Regions from separate parts of the Homo sapiens genome. Here regions 1 and 2 are each linked to region 3. The links are contacts of gene promoters, found by promoter capture Hi-C in human tissues and cell types (Jung and others, 2019). All regions are on one chromosome and are shown on one strand. Each heading gives the region's core, a stretch centred on a gene start or on the middle of the fragment in contact. The rest is flanking DNA. Distances are from core to core; before and after follow the strand shown. Region 1 has its middle 7.1 kb from the start of MPV17L2. Region 2 holds the start of PGPEP1 (pyroglutamyl-peptidase I). Region 3 holds the start of RPL18A (ribosomal protein L18a).

Evidence for each region. The method cuts DNA at HindIII sites, captures the fragments that hold promoters and counts their contacts. A contact is called where the count stands out against the background at its distance.
Region 1: a fragment that was not itself captured here is called in contact with the fragment with the promoter of RPL18A in region 3 in 1 of the 25 tissues and cell types used here (spleen).
Region 2: the fragment with the promoter of PGPEP1 here is called in contact with the fragment with the promoter of RPL18A in region 3 in 2 of the 25 tissues and cell types used here (lymphoblastoid cells and spleen).

Annotation. Positions count from the first base shown.
Region 1 is chr19:18,184,758-18,187,457 of GRCh38, forward strand. No RefSeq gene overlaps it. Among named protein-coding and RNA genes, the nearest start is that of MPV17L2, 7.1 kb to the right of the region's middle. The HindIII fragment of the contact is 5,661 bases long and covers 1-2,700 here.
Region 2 is chr19:18,339,222-18,342,056 of GRCh38, forward strand. It overlaps PGPEP1 (pyroglutamyl-peptidase I), which reads left to right and starts at 1,377. Exons shown (of 5, transcript NM_017712.4): 1 at 1,377-1,494. The coding sequence starts at 1,461. RefSeq lists a silencer at 1,226-1,415 and an enhancer at 1,247-1,934. The HindIII fragment of the contact is 61,917 bases long and covers 1-2,835 here.
Region 3 is chr19:17,858,404-17,861,220 of GRCh38, forward strand. RPL18A (ribosomal protein L18a) reads left to right here and starts at 1,507. Exons shown (of 5, transcript NM_000980.4): 1 at 1,507-1,571. The coding sequence starts at 1,554. RefSeq lists enhancers at 1,055-1,790, 1,123-1,502. The HindIII fragment of the contact is 5,224 bases long and covers 1-1,604 here.

The DNA.
Region 1 (2,700 bases), core at 173-2,672, 330 kb after region 3:
GTGATGTGATCACAGCTCACTGCAGTCTCCAAATCCTGGGCTCTAGAATCCCCTTTGCCTCAAACTTCTGAGTAGCTGGGACTACAGGCATGCACCACCTATCCGAGCTAATTTTTTAAATTTTTGTGGAGATGGGGTCTTGCTATGTTCCCCAGGCTGGTCTCAAACTCCTGAGCTCAAGTGATCCTCCTGCTTCAGCCTCCCAAAGTGCTGGGATCACAGGTGTGAGCCATAATCCCAGCCTGATAAGAATTCGTCCTTTTCTTTTTTTTTTTTGAGACGGAGTCTGGCTCTGTTGCCCAGGCTGGAGTGCAGTGGTACTTTCTCGGCTCACTGCAACCTCCATTTCCCGGGTTCAAGCGGTTCTTCTGCCTCAGCCTCCCGATTAGCTGGGATTACAGGTGCCTGCCACTACGCCTGGATAATTTTTTTGTATTTTTAGTAGAGACGGGGTTTCACCATGTTGGCCAGGCTGGTCTTGAACTCCTGACCTCAGGTGATCCACCCACCTCGGCCTCCCAAAGTGCTGGGATTACTGGTGTGAGTCACCGTGCCAGCCTTTTTTTTTTTTTTTTTTTTTTTCTGAGACAAAGTCTCACTCTGTTGCCCAGGCTGGAATTCAGTGGTGCTATCTCAGCTCACTGAAACCCCAGCTTCCCAGGTTTCAGTGATTCTCCTGCCTCAGACTCCCGAGTAACTGGGACTACAGGCACACACCACCACACTCAGCTAATTTTGCTATTTTTTGGTAGAGATGGGGTTTCACCGTGTTGGCCAGACTGGTCTTGATCTCCTGACCTCAAGTAATCCACCCACCTCAGCCTCTCAAAAAGCTGGGATTACAGGCATGAGCCACCGCGTCCGGCTGAATTCTTACTTTGCATTGGCTTGTCAGGTCCCAGCATTTCTCCCCTGCAGACCCCAGAGGGAGCAGATATTCCCAGCCAATTGTAGCCCATCCTCATCACCAGAAACTAGCAGGGCTAGAGCTTTCCTCCTCTCTCTGGTGTCTGGCTCAGACTGACAGACAGATTAACAAAACAATAGCACACAAAGCTTATTCATTGTAGATGGGAGCCCTCACGAGAAAAATGGAGACCGAAAAAAGTAACTAGACCTAAGTGTTTGTTTTGAGACAGGGTCTTGCTGTGTCATCCAGACTGGAGTGCAGTAGCGGGATCACAGCTCACTGAAGCCTTGACCTCTCAGGCCCAAGCAATCCTCCTGTCTCAGCCTCCCAAGTAGTTGGGACTAGAGTTGCACACCACCACACCTGGCTAATTTTTTAAAAATTTTGGCCGGGCACGGTAGCTCATGCCTGTAATCCCAGTACTTTGTGAGGCAGAGGCTGGGGGATCACCTGAGGTCAGGAGTTCAAGACCAGCCTGGCCAACATGATAAAACCCGTCTCTAGTAAAAATACAAAAATTAGCCAGGCGTGGTGGCGGGCGCCCATAATCCTAGCTACTTGGGAGGCTGAGGCAGGAGAATCACTTGAACCTGGGTGGCGGAGGTTGCAGTGAGCTGAGATCGCGCCACTGCACTCCAGCCTGGGCAACAGAGTGAGACTCCTTCTCAAAAATAAAGAAAAAATAAAAAGATAGATCACAGAGCCCTTCTGGGCTGGCTGCGGTGGTTCGTGCCTGTAATCCTAGAATTTTGGGAGGCTGAGATGGGCAGATAACTGAGGTCAGGGGATCAAGACCAGCCAGACCAACATGGCAAAACCCCGTCTCTACTAGACATACAAAAATTAGCCGGCCATGGTGGTACATGCCTGTAATCCCAGATACTTGGAAGGCTGAGATAAGAGAATCACTTGAACCCGGGAGGTGGAGGTTGCAGTGAGCCAAGATCATGCCACTGCACTCCAGACTGGGCAACAGAGTGAGACTCCCTCTCAAAAAAATAAAAAGAAGAGCCCTTCTTGCATCCACTGTTTGCAAGTGTGTTTAACTCAAAATTCTCAATATCAATATGCCAAAGTTGTATGCTGGTATGTTATGGGTGACATGTCCTGAACACTATCAACAGAAACATACAAAAATTACTGCCAGGTATCAAAAGCTGCTCTTCCTGGGAAGCAATAAAGTATCTTTTGTTTTTCTGTTTTTGAGACAGAGCCTGGCTCTGTCGCCCAGGCTGGAGTGCAATGACAAGATCTCGGCTCACTGCAACCTTTGCCTCCCGGGTTCAAGTGATTCTCCCGCCTCAGCCTCCCATGTAGCTGGGATTACAGGCACCCGCCATCATGCCTGGCTGATTTTTGTATTTTTAGTAGAGACGGGGTTTCACTATGTTGGCCAGGCTGGTCTTGAACTCCCGACATCAGGTGATCCGCCTGCCTCGGCCTCCCAAAGTGATGGAATTACAGCCATGACCCACCGCACCCAGCCCCATAAATTCTCTTAATTTTATTTTTTATTTTACTTTTTGAGGCAGGGTCTCGCTGTGTCATCCAGGCCAGAGTGTAGTGTCACCATCTCAGCCAGCTGAAGACTCAGCCTCTGGGACTCAAGCGATCCTCCCACGTCAGCCTCTCAAGTAGCTGGGACTACAGGTGTGCACTACCGTACCCGGATAATTTTGTTATCCGGTCTTACCATGTTACCTGGTCTTACCATGTTGCCCAGGCATCTGGGCAACTCCAACTCCTGACCTCAAGCGATCCTCCTGCATCCAGGTCCCAAATGGTAGGAT
Region 2 (2,835 bases), core at 127-2,626, 480 kb after region 3:
TTGAACCCGGGAGGCAGAGGTTGCAGTGAGCCAAGATCACACCACTGCACTCCAGCCTGGGTGACAAGAGTGAAACTACGTCTCAAATAAATAAATACATATATAATTTCTGCTTAATAATACCTGGGGGACTAAATAATCTGTACAACAAACCCCATGACACGAGTTTATCTATATAACAAACCTGCACATGTACCCCAAAACTTAAAAGCTAAAAAAAATTAAAAATGATTTCTGGCCAGGTGTGCTGGTTTACACCTGTAATCCCAGCACTTTTGGGAGGCCAAGGTGTGCGGATTGCTTGAGCTCGGGAGTTCGAGACCAGCCTGTGCAACACTATGAAACCCCCATCTCTACAAAAATACAAAAATTAGCTGGGTGTGGTGCCACACACCTGTAGTCCCAGCTACTCAGGAGGCTGAGATGTGAGGATCAGTTGAGCCCTGGAGGTCAAAGTTACAGAGCTATGATTTTGCCACTGCACTCCAGCCTGGGTAACAGAGTGAGACCCTGTCTCCAAAAAAAAGAGAGAGAAAGGAAATTATTTCTGAGCTTTATTGCTATGAAGAGGATGGAACCAGGGAATGAGATGGAACCACTGGGGGGTAGCAGTGAGGTCATTTCAGCCAAGGAGGGCCAGAAGGAACCCTCAGAGGAGGTAATAGGATAGCAGGGAGGTGATAGCCAGAGAAGGCCACAAGGAGAAAGTGACAGTTCACCCCTCGGAGGAGGTGACAGCCAGGACAGGAGGAGGGCCCCTGGGAGGAGGCGACATTGGAACACTGGAGCTGAGGCCTGAAGGAGGCCAGCTTCGCAGGTACCTGCGGGGTGTGTTCCGGCAGAGGGAACAGCAGGTACAATCGCCCTCCCCCATTAGCCTCCTAGGACCATGGGGGCCTGCAGAGAAACTTCTGGCACCACACAAATATGGTTGTCGTGTTTTTCCTTTTTTACTCTGTCCTCCCCCACCCCCGCCAACTTCCTGGCCTGAATGCTGCTCCTGTGACCCCTTGAGGCGAGTGACCTCGGGGAAGTGGCATTCTGTGCCTCAGTTTCCTTATCTGGAAAACGGGCCTTGCTCGCGGGGACTTCCCTCCCTAATTCTGCGCAGTATGCATGCATAGGGCAGGCCCTCAATGAACCCTTGCAGAATAAAGGACCGGCTCATCCCCAGCACCTGGCTCAGTGCGTGCAAGCGGCTACACACTACGGCATAAGATGTTCCCATTTTGCAGACGGGGAAACGGAGGCTGGGGAATACCGGGCCTAGCCGACGGGGGCGGGGCGCAGGGCGCGCACGCTGCGTCTCGGGCCCGGGGGCGCGCACGCCGAGCGGCTGACCGGGGGCGAGGCCGGGGGCTTGACAGGGGCGTGGCCTCGCGCGGCCGAGAGGCTGCAGCGGCAGCAGCTGTCGCGCCAGTCGCAACAGAAGCAGGTCCGAGGCACAGCCCGATCCCGCCATGGAGCAGCCGAGGAAGGCGGTGGTAGTGACGGGTACGCTGGCTGATGGGGGCTGTAGCGGCAGCGGCCGGGGGCAGAGGCGGGGGCGGCTCCGGGACTGCGGGGCCGAGAGGGGCAGGTGCTGGAAGTCCTCTCAGATTTGGAAGGTGTCATCACCCGCGGGAGCCCCGCGCAGCCCAGGCTTCCTGGAAAGTGGAGGAGGAGGAGCCTTGGGGGTCCCAGGGTCGGGAGTCAGGGCAGTCGGGCGCGGGGCTTGGGGGGCCGGGCAAAAGCCCGGCGCTGCGCAGGCCCCCCTGGCGTCCTTTCCTCCCAAGGTGGGGATGGTGACCCTCCTGGCACCTGCCTCCTCTGTCTGGCCTGCGGGCTGGACTGGACCCTTCCTCCCTGCCCCTTCCGAGGTCCAGCCTGTCCCCACACCGCTCCCCCAACCCCTGGCCCCAGGGGACAAAGGCCGATTTGCGGGCAGGAAGTGTCCCAGTGACAAATGAACCTCCCAGTCACTGCTCGCCGCGCCCTGCGCTCCTGGGGGGCTACTCTCCCAAGGCAGGGGCAGGTGGGGGTCCGGGGACCTCGGGCTCTCCCAGCTGTCCCAGGGACTGTCTTCAGCGGAAACCTTTTTGTGTTTTGTGCCAGGGCTGTTTGTTGGTGAGTCAGGGCCCCTGCTGTCACCGACTCCCCCCCACCCCCAAACCAACTGTTTCTCCTCCCTGAGACTCCGCCTCGGGGCCACGTGGGGCGCCAACTTCCGCTGGGGCCTCAGAGTCAAGGAGTGGGGGGGTCATTTTGACCTGCTGTCTGGAGGGGTCAGAGTGGGAAATCCAGCAAAGGTGCACACAGGTGTTTTGTGGCTGTTGAAGGGAGATTGAGGCTGATCCAGGAGATTCAGGGAAGAAGGAAGAAACAAGGCACCTGCTTAACAGGTGTGTATAATTGGGAGGAGGGTCACTGCCCCCATCCCTTCCAGCCTTCCTTTATCTGGTTATTTATTCCAGCACTTTTTGCATGAGCTGATTACATCTTTACTGTCTCCATTTTGCAGAAAGGGAAACTGAGGCTCACAGAGGTCATCCAGTTTGTAAGGGGCTGAGCTGAGACTCAAACTTTGGCTGTACAGAAGGATAGAGTTAGGAGGTCCCCTCCTGAGCCACAGCCCCTACCTGCTATCCCAGGCTACAGCATCTCTGCATAGCATTCATATCCTGTGGGATCACTGGCCCAGATGGACCGTATTTTTTTTTTTTTGAGACGGAGTTTTGCTCTTGTTGCCCAAGCTGGAGCACAACGGCGCGATCTCGGCTCACTGCAACCTTCGCCTCCTGGGTTCAAGCGATTCTCCTGCCTCAGCCTCCTGAGTAGCTGGAATTACGGGCACGC
Region 3 (2,817 bases), core at 257-2,756:
TGTAATCCCAGCTACTCTGGAGGCTGAGGCGGGAGAATTGCTTGAACCCAGGAGGCAGAGGTTGCAGTGAGCCGAGATAGCGCCACTGCACTCTGGCCTGGGGAAAAGAGTAAGACTCAGTCTCAAAAAATAAAAGAAAAAGAAAAGAAAAGAAAATCACACCCAGTAGTGACTTGAATCCACAAAACCAGATTAAGAGAACCAGAAATGCAAAATAAGAAAATGAAAATAAAAAATTGCATGCTTGCTGTCCTTTATTTTCTTTCTTTCTTTCTTTCTTTTTTTTCTGAGTCGGAGTCTCGCCCTGTCTCCCAGGCTGGAGTGCAATGGCCAGATCTCGGCTTACTACAACCTCCATCTCCCAGGTTCAAGCGATTCTTCTGCCTTAGCCTCCCGAGTAGCTGGGATTACAGGCGCCCGCCACCACGCCCGGCTAATTTTTGTATTTTTAGTAGAGACGGGGTTTCGCCATGTTGGCCAGGCTGGTCTCGAACTCCTGACCTCAAGTGATCCACCCGCCTCGGCCTCCCAAAGTGCTGGGATGACAGGCGTGAGCCACCGCGCCTGGTCTTTTTTTTTTTTTTTTTTTTTTGAGACAGAGTCTCACTCTGTCGCCCAGGCTGGAGTACAGTGGCGCAATCTCGGGTCACTGCAACCTCTGGCTCCTGGGTTCAAACGATTCTCATGCCTCAGCCTCCTGCCTCTTTCCTCTTAATTTTACTTCATAGCCTTGTCATCAGGGAGTTGTTTGCGGGTGTTTCTTTTTTCATATCTGGTCCCCGTCCTCATCCCCAGGAGGGCTTCTTTCTGCCCAAGCAAACTGCTAAGTCCAAGCCCCTCAAAGTGGGCGGCTGGATCTTGATCCATTCTCCGGCTCTCCGCGCGCTCTCCCCCAACCCCTGCTCCCTCAGGTTCTTATGAACTGGAGGCAGACAGACAGAGTTTGAATCCCAGCTACTACGAAACACAAATCGGACCCCAAATTAACAAAAACAGCATTCCAGAGCTTATTCAATATTCGTGCTGCAACATCGCTAGGAGAAAAATATATTATTTGTATTCCCATTTTACAGATACCCTCAGGTATCTGGTGGAGACCTCCGTAACACACCTCCCCGGAGGATGAGGCCCCGAGTGTGAAGCATCGGGATCTCACGGTAAACACCGCAGCCACCCGAGGTAGCTTAGGTTCAATGCTTAGGCATCCTGCAGGCGGCGCGCGCCGCCGCCCCTAGTTGCAGCCGGGACTGGCGGAGTGCCTACAACTCCCGACGTGCCGCGCGCGCAGACGCTCCGTTGCGGTCGTGGTGGAACAGGTGGAGCTTGCCTCGTTGCCTTCTGGGAAACGAAGTCTCGCTGAAGAGAGGCGGAACTTTGAGTAGCAGGTGGATCCATAGCCAATGAAGACGCGGGTCGCTTTGAGTGCGGGGCAGAGAAGCCAATGGACGTGCGGCATTGAGAGGGCGGGTCTTCCGGTAGTGAAGGCCTGGTGAACGGCTGCGCGACAGAGGACACTTCCTTTTGCGGGTGGCGGCGAACGCGGAGAGCACGCCATGAAGGCCTCGGGCACGGTAAGGCGGGCGCGGCGCGGCAGGGGGCCAAGGGATGGGGCACGGGCCCCATCAGGGGCCTGCATAAGTGGCGTGGGCCGGGTTGGTGCCGCGCGCTTCTGTTTGGGCCCCCCTTGGCCGCGCGCCGCCTTCTCTTGTTGCACCCAACATGGCGGCCATCGTGGGAGCCGCGTGGAGAGAGCGATGCGTGACCTGGGCCAGCTCAGGGATCGCGGGGGCCCAAGGACTCCGGGTCTTCTTCCCGGGGGAAGGAATAAGTCGCGCAGCATAGAGGCCCTAGCCCCGGCACCTCGTCGAGCCGCCAAGTTTCTGTTTTCCTTTCTGCAACGTGGACGTGGCGGTAGAGCAATAGTGTGTTTTCTTTCTGCCGGAATGGCTGTGAGAAGCAGATGAAAATTGCTAACAGTGAGCCGAAACGGGGAGCGTGAGGCTTAACGCTGTGGTACATACTGGATAGAATCAAACGGCTCTATGGCGCAGAGATAGGAGAACCTGGACTCCCATGGAGTGGGTGTATTATGTCCAGATCTCCAGCTTCGGTTTCCTTGCTGTCAAAGGGGCGGGCCCCATTGTTCCCTTCCTGAACGTGTGCCGAGGCCGGTGGGTCAGGTTCACAGTAAAAGTAGGAACTGCGATAATTTGTGACTATTTTTCATTGATAACTAGTGAAAAGCTGGCGAGTCAGTTTCAGAGGTGGTTTCTTTGTGCCATATCACAGAGCCTGGACTTGACCAAAGATTCTCACCTCTGCATCTGTAAACCGGGAGTCTTCCCTGGGCCAAACGTTTGGATTGCAGTTGGGAAAACGGAGGCAGCCGCAGCTCGCGTGGCAACAGTGCAGGGATCCCAGGGCTGGGGAGAGACCTGAGGTCTTGTCCTAGTTCTGCCTGGAATGGGCTGTGAGATCCCATGCTGGTCACTGGGCCTCAGGGTGAAAGAAGATGTTGGCTGGATGTTTTGAGGTGCAGAGTGGCTGTTTGACGGCGACTGCAAAGCAATTCAGGACTGCAGCATGAAGAAAGGAGGCTGTGGGTCTAAGCCACAGCTTTCCTGGTCTGAAACCCTTAGCCCAGGCAAAGGAGAGGCAGGCAACTCAATTAATCCTCCCTGGAGACCTCCCTCTCCTCAGTTCATTTTGTGTATAAAGTTGTGGTCGGGAGTGTGACCTACAGTCACCAAGAATCCACATGGAGGCCCTAGGGTGGCCCTGCCTCCTGCTTCCCGAATCTGTGGTCACTAGATGTAG